Linked DNA regions of Homo sapiens: region 2 is linked to region 1. The links are contacts of gene promoters, found by promoter capture Hi-C in blood cells and fetal thymus (Javierre and others, 2016). All regions are on one chromosome and are shown on one strand. The core of a region is centred on a gene start or on the middle of the fragment in contact, and the rest is flanking DNA. Distances in the headings are between cores, read along the strand shown. Region 1 holds the start of SLC1A3-AS1 (SLC1A3 antisense RNA 1). Region 2 has its middle 36 kb from the start of NIPBL-DT.

Evidence for each region. Contacts are between HindIII fragments. The CHiCAGO score rates a contact against its expected background, and 5 or more counts as called.
Region 2: a fragment that was not itself captured here is called in contact with the fragment with the promoter of SLC1A3-AS1 in region 1 in 1 of 17 cell types (monocytes); the score reaches 5.8 in monocytes.

What each region holds. Positions count from the first base shown.
Region 1 is chr5:36,721,776-36,727,416 of GRCh38, reverse strand. SLC1A3-AS1 (SLC1A3 antisense RNA 1) reads left to right here and starts at 2,229. Exons shown (of 2, transcript XR_007058736.1): 1 at 2,229-2,303. RefSeq lists enhancers at 3,232-3,501, 3,542-3,591, 3,602-3,651. The HindIII fragment of the contact is 5,384 bases long and covers 1-2,845 here.
Region 2 is chr5:36,838,119-36,843,729 of GRCh38, reverse strand. No RefSeq gene overlaps it. Among named protein-coding and RNA genes, the nearest start is that of NIPBL-DT, 36 kb to the left of the region's middle. The HindIII fragment of the contact is 637 bases long and covers 3,425-4,061 here.

The DNA.
Region 1 (5,641 bases), core at 980-3,479:
AGGGTAAGTAGACTCTGGAGGGCACTTTCTCAGGGAAGGAATGAGGGTCTCAGGCTCTGTGGGGAAGAAAGGCATGCAGAGGTGGCAGCTGCAGATGGCCTGACGGGTGGGAAATTTTGCCTCTTCTGGTTTCTGGTCACCCCAGCTTCTTGAAAGACTGAATTGAGGAGTGTGGGTGTTGGAGTGGGGTGAATGGGATAGGAATAGCTCTATGAGCAGCTGAAGCTACTCCGTTGGTACCATCGGGACCATACTGTTCTTTTCATTTGGAATCCTGAAAATGGTGCATATATAAAGACCTTGAGGGCTTAGCAGGTGTTGGGGAAACCACCACATTACTGATCCTTCAAGAGACCAAGACATAAAAATAGTGCCTCTTATTTCTGGCCTTTTGGCTACTGTTACTTCTGTGTCATTGTCTCTTATTACCCTCACTTCTAGCCACACCAGTCTTATCACTGTTCCTTGGATGGGCCTCAGGGCCTTTGCACTGGCTGTTCTCTCTGCTTGGACCACTCTTCCTCAAGATAGCCACATGCCTCACTCCCTCACCTCCTGCACTCTGCTCAAAAGTCAACTTCGTAGGGAGTCCTGACTTGACCACCCTAATTTAAATTGCACTTCTGATTTCACTTACTTTGCTTTTTCTCTCCATAGTGATCACCTCTTAACATATTACAAAATTTTCTTAATTTTTTAATGTTTATTGCCTATCTCCTGTTTCACGCTCCTTCTTGCATCCCTGAATGTAAACTCTGAGAATAGTGAGGTATTTTTTGTCCTTTTTGTTCAATAACAAACACTCAGTGCCTAGAATAATGCCTTACAGGAGTGCTTTATAAGCATTTGTTGAATGAATGAATGAACTAATGAATGAAGTGTAATACAAGGGGCAAAGGATTTGGCATCCTTTGGTCATGGAGTGCTGCTCAGATATGTACTATAGAAACCATTCTGAAGCATTTCAAAAGACATCCAGTTTCTCCTCTGTATACTGCAAAATCTTGGGCTTAGGTTCTGGCATTTAGTCTATGACAAATGATTGCTGGCAAAAGTTGAATGAAGCAGTTAAGAGTATGGGTTTGCAGTAAGATCCAGGTTCAAATTTACACCTTTCCATGTACTACCTGTGTGACTTTGGTGAAATTATCTTCTCCAGGCCTTAGGGTGAAATGTATGTGAGAATGCATGAAGCCTGCCACGTGGTTAATATTAAGAGTGATAACTCATATTATCATTGATGGAGGTGAATGAAAGAAATGGAGTAACACGCTTTTAAAACACAGTTTCCCCTCCATTATCATTTCAACCACTTTAGATGAAAATATTGAGGGATACATCCACAATTTCTAGTTAATTAAAAAATATCAGGAGGTCTTAGTAGATTCTAGATTTTTCCTTCAATGAAATGAGTTGTTAAATAAAAGGCCTCCATAAGTACAGGGTCTTGTCGTTGGGCTCTATCTTATGAGCGGTGGATCTGCCTCCCAGGAAGGTAGGCAGACACCAGTGAGGCATCTGGTGCTTGGGATGCAGCGAGTGGAGCCAAGCAGAGAATGATCAGATCCGTTTGCCTGGAATTTCTGCATTTGCTGCCCCAAACATCTGGAGCCAGGCTACCCAGTGCAGATGGAAAATAGCAAAATGCAAATTCCCTGGGTTCAGCTGAGGGAAGCCAAGGCAGACAGAGTCTGAGAAGGCGGATGAAAGGTGAGCCAAAACAAAAGCCCTGGCGGGTGGTGGGGCAGCGTTTTATCTAGAGCCTACGGCCCCCGGTAAGGACAGGAGATGAGAGAAGGGACCTTAGAGCTACTTGGGCCACCTTCATGTTCGTACTCATCCCCCTCCTTAACAGCCTGAAAGGGAGCCTGCTGGGCTTACGGCAGCCTCCCTGTCCTCTTCCTGATGCCATGCCTGCTCCATTGCTTTGCTTCTTCTGGATCCTGTTTCGCCCTCTCCCTCAAGAAGGAGATCCTGAAATAGATCCTGAGTCAATGACTCAGGTGCAAGTGCTTTATTAAAGAAAGGCTCCCAGAAGAAATCTACTTGCACCCGAATCATTGACTCAGGATCTCCTTCTGGGAGAATCCAAGCCAAGACAAGACAGACAACCCAACCAACTGAGCTGCTCACAGCTTCAACTGCTACAACCCTGGAAAGGATTCTGATTGGCTAGCTAAGGGTCACATGCCCAAATGGGCCTTTGATTGGCAGCTGTTGCTTCCTTCCTACTCCCTCCCACACACCCAGGAGCTCCAGCCTGTTATGGGATGGGCATCCTACCAGGAACCAAGGATGCTAAGGTAAGCAGTCCTTGCCCTCATAGGTTTACTTATACTTAAGGGGAGAGAACCGTTAGTCAAATCACCCCACATACAGATCTTTACACACTATGAAGGACAAGCACAGGGTGCAGTCAGTGGGAGGGGCCCAGAACGGGAAGTGCCATGCTGGCTGCTGCTGTGTGGAATGGGCTGTAAAGAGAGCAAGAGTGAAAGCCACAGCAGGGGAGCTGGTCAGAGATGGCAGTGGCTTTATTAGAGTGGTGGCCCTGGAGTTGGAGACAGGTGGGAAAAACTCAAGAGCCCTCTAAGGAACCGACCCATGGCAGTCCATCGCCACCAAGTCCCTCTTACCACTCTAGGTTTAAAGAAACCCAAAAAACAAAACTACGTTGCAACTGCACTGCTACACCAGGAAACCTAAGGGGGAACAAAAGAAAACTTAGTAGTGCCCTCTAGGCTGAAGATTTGACCTATTATTTACTAACCTTTCCCTCCCTCTTCCTTATTTTCAACAAATCTCCTGCCATCCATTTTGAATTCTTCTCTAAATAGAGAAAGCTTTCTTTCTCAGCTTCATTTAAATGTCCACCATGGTATTTACCCATGTTTTCTTGATTTTTATTTCTTTTTGGGGCGGGTATCTAAAAGATAATCTGATCCCTGTTCCTGATTCTGTAGGTGACAGAGAGAAGTGGTTTTCTCATTTTTTTGTGTGTGAAATTATTCGCATATGAGGAAAAGATAGCTCAAAAATAGAAGCTCTTTCATTATCTCTCCACAATGTAGTGTGGCCCCAAGTGACTATTTTGTGGAGACACGGTAATTTGGGGTGGCTAAATCATTACCCCGAGGTGTGTCAGATGCTGCCAAGACCTCCTTCATTCATGTGGCCAAGACTGTGGGCTTCCTGGCTGGGGAGGCAGAGGCCCTGCTCTTCTGCTGCTAACCTTGGGGTCAGCGAGCCCTGATCCACACTTCCTCTGGGCAACATCAATGGGGCTGCTGAACATATTGAGCCAGACTTGTTTCCAAGAGATAGAAGGAACTAGAGCATTGGGGAAAGTCCCAAGTAACTCTAGCCCTCAGCCACCTGCTGTGGCTGAAGATGAAGTCTCTGCAGCTTCAAGAATCCAACTGGCTGGTGCACATTGTTCTCATTGGCTAGATCATTCCTCCATGTAGCACTTCACTAAACTCATTAACAAATATTTACAAATGACATTGCTTTTTGGGGTCATGTATATTTCAGTCTTCAGAATCCATCAGGCACTCAAATCCCTTGGCAGTTCTAGTTCTCTCCCCTAGACATGCCTCTGCCCCCTACTACTCAGTTCCTTTTATTTCTACCATTCGTTTTTATTTTCTATTTCATTTCTTTACTTTTTAGAGACAAGGTCTCTGTCACCCAGGTTGGAGTGCAGTGGCATGATCATAGCTCACTGCAGCCTCAAACCCTTGGACTCAAGTGATCCTCCTGCCTCGGCCTCCTGAGTAGCTGAGACTACAGGTGTGTTCCACCACATCTGGCTAACTTTTGTATTTTTTGTCAAGATGGGGGTCTTGCTATGTTGCCCAGGCTGATTTCAAACTCCTGACCTCAAGCTGTCCTCCAGCCATGGCCTCCCAAAGTGCTGCCTACCATTATAGGCTGCCATGCCTGGCCCTTATTTTTTTTAAAAAATGATCTTCTCCCTTCTATGTAATTCCTATTCTACCTGTATTATTCTTCTTTCCCTGTATTATGCTCGTCCCTTGCTCTTCTTCTCCTCTCCCTTTCATTTTAACCACTCTTCCATCTCCTGCTACTGCATGTGAATCAGATTTGCCCTCCAAATACCGTGTGTATCACCATCAGTTCAGTGGCAGAGGCTGTTCTTGCGCTGGCTTGGAAGATGACAGTTCCCAAAGTATTCCCCATAGAGGCTGATCGGTCTGACCCAGCTAATGCTACCAGTTAAAATAATCCTGGCTCAGGGCCCATGAGACTCACCAGTCCTTATGTGGTATTGGAAAGTGAAACTGATTTGGCAGCCTCATTAGATTATAATCAGCTCGAATCTTCCCTTCTGCCTTCTCAGAGCATCACATGTGTCCCCAGGAACAGCAGAGGGGAAAAACCACCTCTCCTCGCCCGCTTTCTGTATTTCTTCTAAGGTTCTTAGTTCAAATTAAATCTTTACTCTGTGAGAGCAGAGAATGACTCATTGGCCACCATGACTATCACCTTAAGTGGGCTTCTAATTTGTTTTAGAAGCTACTAGCGACCCCTAGGATAGCATCTACAATTTCAAGAGTGTAGTTTCAGAGTACTGACTGTATGCACCAATAGATGCCGGGCTGAGAAGTTGGGACCACATTCGGTAACAAGAGTGATAATAGCTACCAGTTCCTGGTTGCTTAGACACTTCTGTATTAACTTGTTTAATCCTCGGATCAATCCTATGGGGTATTTACTATCTTATCTTATTTTAGGAGGTGGACGCTGAAGCACAGAGAGGTTAAGTAACTTGCCTAAAGTAACAGAGTTAATAAGTGGCAGAACCAGGATTGGAGCTCCAGGAGACTGGCTCCAGAATCTGTGCTATTAATAGTTCCTTGCATCATAATCTGTAGGTTATGAGAACTACAGAAGGTTGGTACCTAAGCTTGGCACAAAGACAATGATACTTAGGGATAGTCATTTGGAAGGAGAGAGATAGAATAATTGATGGGAAAGTCAAGGAATCCAGTAACAGAGTCTCTGGTAATAATCTTGGTATGTGAATTAGGGTGGAATCTGCGAATGTGGAAAGCTATAGACATGAGAGATGACGTGAAGGAAACATTTGGACTAATGTGGGACATAGAGGGGGAGAGCATGGTGGGAGCGTTCCACCTGAGAGAATGGTGGGACCAGGGTCAGAAGGAGGGGTGACAGAAAGTGCCTCTGACTTGTGTGTAACCCTGAGATTTTAGGCTGATAAGGTTTCAAAGACTCTGGCTCCCCTACACTTCCTTACCCAACACTGTGTCCCCAGAAGGAGGGATGCTGCTGTGGATTAGTTACACTCCATGAGGCCAGCAGGCTTGAGGGCTAGAGGGTGGGGCTTTTGCTGGAAGAAGCAGAGAGATTGGAAAGAAACACCCTGTATCCCTCGTCTTCTCCATGTGTACTTTCTTAGCGTCTTCCTTTGCGTATGCTAGATCATGGGACGTCTGGTCCAGGGCACCTCTGGGCCTGATTATCCCCCAACTTCCTTGGATGACCTTTTGGCTGGGGCAAGGGGAAAGAAGCGTGGAAAGGTATCTTAGGGGACACACATGCTCACATTTTCACACAACCTCATACTTCCTCTTCTGGAGAGAAAATAGCAAGA
Region 2 (5,611 bases), core at 2,494-4,993, 110 kb before region 1:
CACAGGCAGGCTCATCGTCCACTATGGCCTTGGATCTCCTGGGCTCAAATGATCCTCCAGCCTCAGCCTCCCAAGCAGCTGGGACTACAGGCATGCACCACTGTGCCTGACTACACAGTATATATTTTTAGAAATAAAAACATTCCCTATTGTAATGCTGTTGTGGGGAAATAGGAAATAGGGCTTCCTTACAGGGTGACTTAGTTGTTACAACCTTTATTTATAAGTTATTTTAATTTTCATGTGACAGAGTTTGACTCCTTGAATTACTATAAAATCTATGTTAGGTAATAATGAGCTATGATAAAAGAGTTTTGGTGTACATTTGATTCAAGTTAATGATGCTTGATTTAGGTGTTTTCTTCAGTGACCAAATATGTATACTATTCTAAAGAATCCATTACTAGGCGGGGGCAGTGGTACACCTGTAATCCCAGCACTTTGGGAGGCCAAGGCGGGTGGATCACCTGAGGTCAGGAATTCGAGACCAGCCTGGCCAACATGATGAAACCCCGTCTCTACTAAAAATACAAAAAATTAGCTGGGCATGGTGGCTCACGCCTATAATCTCAGCCACTTGGGAGGCTGAGGCAGGAGAATTGCTTGAACCTGGGAGGTGGAGGTTGCAGTGAGCCGAGATCATGCCTTTGCACTCCATCCTGGGCAGCAAAAGCTAAACTCCGTCTCAAAACAAAAAACAAAAAACAAAAAAAACACCAACCAAGCAAACAAACAAAAAGAATTGTATGATACCTCAGTGAATACCTGTTAGTGCCACTTAGCTAATTGTTATGATAAACTCAAGTCTAATTTTAGTTTATTTTACCAAATTACAGATGAAGGTTAACATATTTTTAATGAATTGATTTTTAAAACATTAAACTGTCCTTTATTCTTGTTGTTGGCCTGTACTAATCAATGAACAATTGTTTTTTTTAATGCTGATTCAGGGATCAAAAGATAGAGTTACACTTATAATGTATGCCTGTTATGCTTCTAAATCATATTTTGTGCATTATTTTTACATATATTTTTAAACAAATTAATATTGGGGGAGTGACCATTGACTTGTTCATAGGACTCGTGCAATTCTTTTTTTTAAGCAGATCTGGAATTATTTTATTTATTCTGATAGAATTACTGTAAATTCTTGCCTACCCAGCATCCATTTTTAACAACTCTGAATCTTCAAGAACAAGTCTGGAATCATAATTAAATGAAATAAATATTGCAGAGAAAGGCTTCAGACACTTCAGTTTGAGGTTAAGAAAGGCAGAGGCTTATGATGGTTGTGTTAACCAAAACAAAACAGTGCCTTAATTGGTGAATACTATTCATAAAAATCATCTTGCTAACTTTTGTTTGTTAAATCCATGAAGCAGGGAATAAGTGAAAGGAACTAGAAAACAGAAGAAGAAAGAGGAGTGGTTAGTAAAGGAAGTGGTATAATTGCAGAAGTAGCAGAGGTTAGAAATGGTAGAAATGATGAGAAGCTGCAGGGATGAGTGGCAGCAGAGACCCCTTGAGGAGTAGATGGGAAAGTGGTCAGCTCTGCAGCCCACCTGCTCTGGAGCTCGTGAAAGCATAGGACAACCCCCTGGTGAGTCTATTAGCAAAAGAAAATTGCCACCCAGGTAGACCCTTTCTAAAAGCATATGTTATATATCTATAAAACACGTGTAGTAAGTTTCTTTTAAGCTAACATGAAAGAGAGCCATACCTTCTTCTGTTGTTCTGTTGCTGAGAAATGCTACATAATAAACAGTTTAATATTTCATGAATAATTATTTATGCCACACCTTTTGGTGAAAGAAAACATCTGTAAATGCCTTTCTTATCTGTTGAAATGCTATTTCAAGAAGTAAAAGGCATCCAGATTGGAAAAGAGGAAGTCAAATTGTCCCTCTTTGCAGATGACATGATCTTATATTTAAAAAAATCTAAAAACTCCACCAAGTAACTCTTAGATCTGATAAACAAATTCACTAAAGTTGCAGGATACAAAATCAACATACAAAAATCAGTGACATTTCTATACATTTATATTAAACTGGGTGAAAAATAAATCAAGAAGGCAATCCCATTTACAATAGCTACAAAAAAATTCTAGAAATAAGTTTTACCAAGGAGGTGAATGACCTGTATAAGGAAAGCTACAAAACACTGATGAAAGAAATTGAAGAAGACACAAACAAATGGAAAAACATCCCATGCTCATGGATCGAAAGGATTAACATTGTTAAAATGACCATACTACCCAAAGCAATCTATAGATTCAATACAATCCCTATGGAGATACCAACAACATTCTTCACAGAAATAGAAAAAAACAATCCTAAAGTTTGCACTGAACCAAAAAAGAGCCCAAATAGCCAAAGCAATCCTGAGCAAAAAGAACAAAGCTGGAGGCATCACACTACCTGTCTTCAAAATATATTACAAGGTTATAATAACCAAAACAGCATGGTATTGGTATAAACGGACACATAGACCAATGGAAGAGAATAGAAAACCCAGAAATAAATCGACGTATTTACTGCCAGCTTATTTTTTTTTAATTTGATTTTTTTTTTTTTGTAGCGATGGGGTCTTTCTCTGTCACTCAGGTTGAATTGCAGTGGCATGGTCATAGCTCACTGCAGGCTTGAACTCCTGGGCTCAAGTAATCCTCCCACTTCAGCCTTCCACATAACTGGGATTACAGGTCTGAGCTACCAAGCCTGGTTTACAGCCAACTAACTTTTGACAAAGGCACCTAGAACATCCATTCAAGTCTTTTTAATAAATGTGCTGGGAAAACTCTATATCCATATGCATAACAATGAAACTAGACCCCTTTCACTATATATAAAAATCAACTCAAAATAGATCAAAGACTTTAATATAGAACCTGAAACTATAAAATGACTGGAAGAAAACATAGGAGAAACACTCCAAGACATTGGTCTAGGTAAAGATTTTATGGCAAAGACCTCAAAAGCAGAGGCAACAAAAGCAAAGATAGACAAATGCAACTGATATGGTTTGGGTCTGTGCCTCCACCCAAATCTCATGTCAAATTGTAATCCCCTACGTTGGAGGTGGAGCCTGGTGGGAGGCGATTGGATTATGGTGGCGATTTCCCTTTTGGTGCTGTTCTCATGATAGTGAGTTGTCACAAGATCTGCTGGTTTAAAAGTGTGTAGCTCTTACTACCTCTCCCTCTTCCTCCTGCTCCGGCCATGTAAGAGATTACTCCTGCTTTGCCTTCTGCCGTGAGTAAAAGTTTCCTGAGGCCTCTCCAGGAGCCACTATGCATCCTGTATATCCTGCAGAACCATGAGCCAATTAAACCTCCTTTCTTTATAAATTACCCAGCCTCAGGTATTTCTTTATTGCAATGTGAGAATGAACTAATGTGGTGACTGTATTAAACCAAAAAGCTTTTGCACAGCAAATAAAACAATCAACACAGTGAAGAGACAACCTGTTGAATAGGAGAAAATATTTGCAAGCTGCTCATTTGACAAGGGAATAATATCCAGTATGTACAAGGAACTTAACCGCAAAAAAACCCCCCAAATAACCCCATTAAAAATTGGGCAAGGATATTAATAGATATTTCTCAAAAGAAGACAAATGACCAACAGCTATATGAAAAAATGTTCAACATTACTAATCATCGGGGAAATGTAAATCAACAAAACCACAAAGAGATATTATCGTATCCCAGTTAGAATGCTAATTACAAAAAGACAGATGCTGGTGAGGATATGGAGAAAAAGGAACTCATACAGCGTTGGTAATAATGTAAATTAGTATAGCCATTATGGAAAATAGCATGAAGATTTCTCAAAAAACTAAAAATAGAATTACCATATGATCCAGCAATCCCACTACTGGGTATTTATCCAAAGAAAAGTAGATCAGTATATCAAAGGGATACCTACACCCCCATGTTCATTTCAGCATTAAGGAAATGAAGCCTCAGAGAGGTTAAGTGCCTGGCCTCAGTGTCACCCAGCCAGGAAAAAACAGAACTGAGAATTTACTTGTGATTGCTCTATTCCAAAGACTAAGCTTTTGACCAATTTATTACACAATGTTAGGTCAGCAGAGATTGAAAGTTGCTAATCAGTGTGTTCCTCATTCTCTCATTCCCATCCCAGGATTTGGGCAAATATTAATAAATGTGATGACTGAGCAAGGCCTGTGAAGTCTGAATCCCAGGAATCCCTAAAATATATCTCCCACTTTCCTGCTAGCGTCTGACCAGATTTTGGGGTCCTAATTAATGTCTGGTTTGATAAGCTTCTTTAAAACATCTGAACTTAGCCAGGCAAGTTCAAGTGCAACAGGATTTTTCCAAGCAGCATCAGTCTAGAAACTGAGCAGTTGTGGTCTCAGTTCTGAACCACCAATCTTCTCTTACTTGAGTCTTGCAGGGAATTATTGTGAAGTTTGAATCTTGTCTCTGCCACCTACTAGCTGTGAGAATGAATGTAATTATTTACATTTCTGAGAATGCTCTTTGCCCCATCTGAAAACTAGTGTATAAATACCTTCCACAAAGTGATAAAAGGATTAACGTGAGATCATGAATTTGAAAGTGGCTGGTATGATAAATGCTAAGTAAAAAAATTTAAATGAAATAAAATGGATTAAGTGAAATAAAATGGTCTCCTTGTTTCCAGCTTCCAACTGTCTCTTCAACCTCTCTCTGCCAACGTCTGCTCCGACTTACCATGATTGCTCCTGGTTCTAGACTTCTGGCACCACCTGCCAATTCTCTTTCCCTCTGGCAAGCTCTGGCACTACCTTCCTAGGCAACATGAGGGAGGGCCTGGACTCGAGAACAGAGTCCCCCAAGTCCTGAGCAGAATTTATGTCTTCAAAACCTATTTACGGCATATGTAATTGTTGTACTGTCTTCAAAAACACAATGTATTTCCATTATTTTTCCAATTAAAATTTTAATAAAAACTCAGTGAGAAAAATTAGAAAATGTCAGAAACTTTAGAAGGAAAAAACCCACCATAATCTAATAACCTCTCAATAAACAATGTTAACAGCTGGATATATACTTTCAAGTGTTTTTCACTGATGTATCTTGAGAAAGGGAGCCTGGTTCCTTTTAAAGATTTCATTCTGAATCAGAAATTCAGTTACTAAAAAAAGCGAATCATCTCAAATTAGCATTTGATATTGAGGACCTATTATAGGCTGGACAGTTGACAGTTGCCTAGAGAATTGAAAGTAGAAATATCAGTCTGTCTCCTCAACAACATATAGTAGAAGCGCAGGCAGGGGCACACTATAAAAAGTTAGATGTAAATTTAAGTGCTAGATGGGAATAAATACAAAAGTAGGAGAAATTTCATATGTCAACTCATAAAAAAATTCCCAAATGAATGATATCTGTAATGAGTACTATGAGTTCAAACCTGCCAAGATCTTGTGGCTCTTAGCAAGGAGAACAATTATAAAGAGATTAAATTTTCGGTAAGAAAATGAAAAGCATATGTGTCTTGGGTTAGGTTGGGAGTAATATCTGAAGGGCAGGGTTTTCCAAACGAGAATAAACAGGGTCAAATGTAACATAGATGCCAGAGAATTTGTTGCTTTGAAAAAG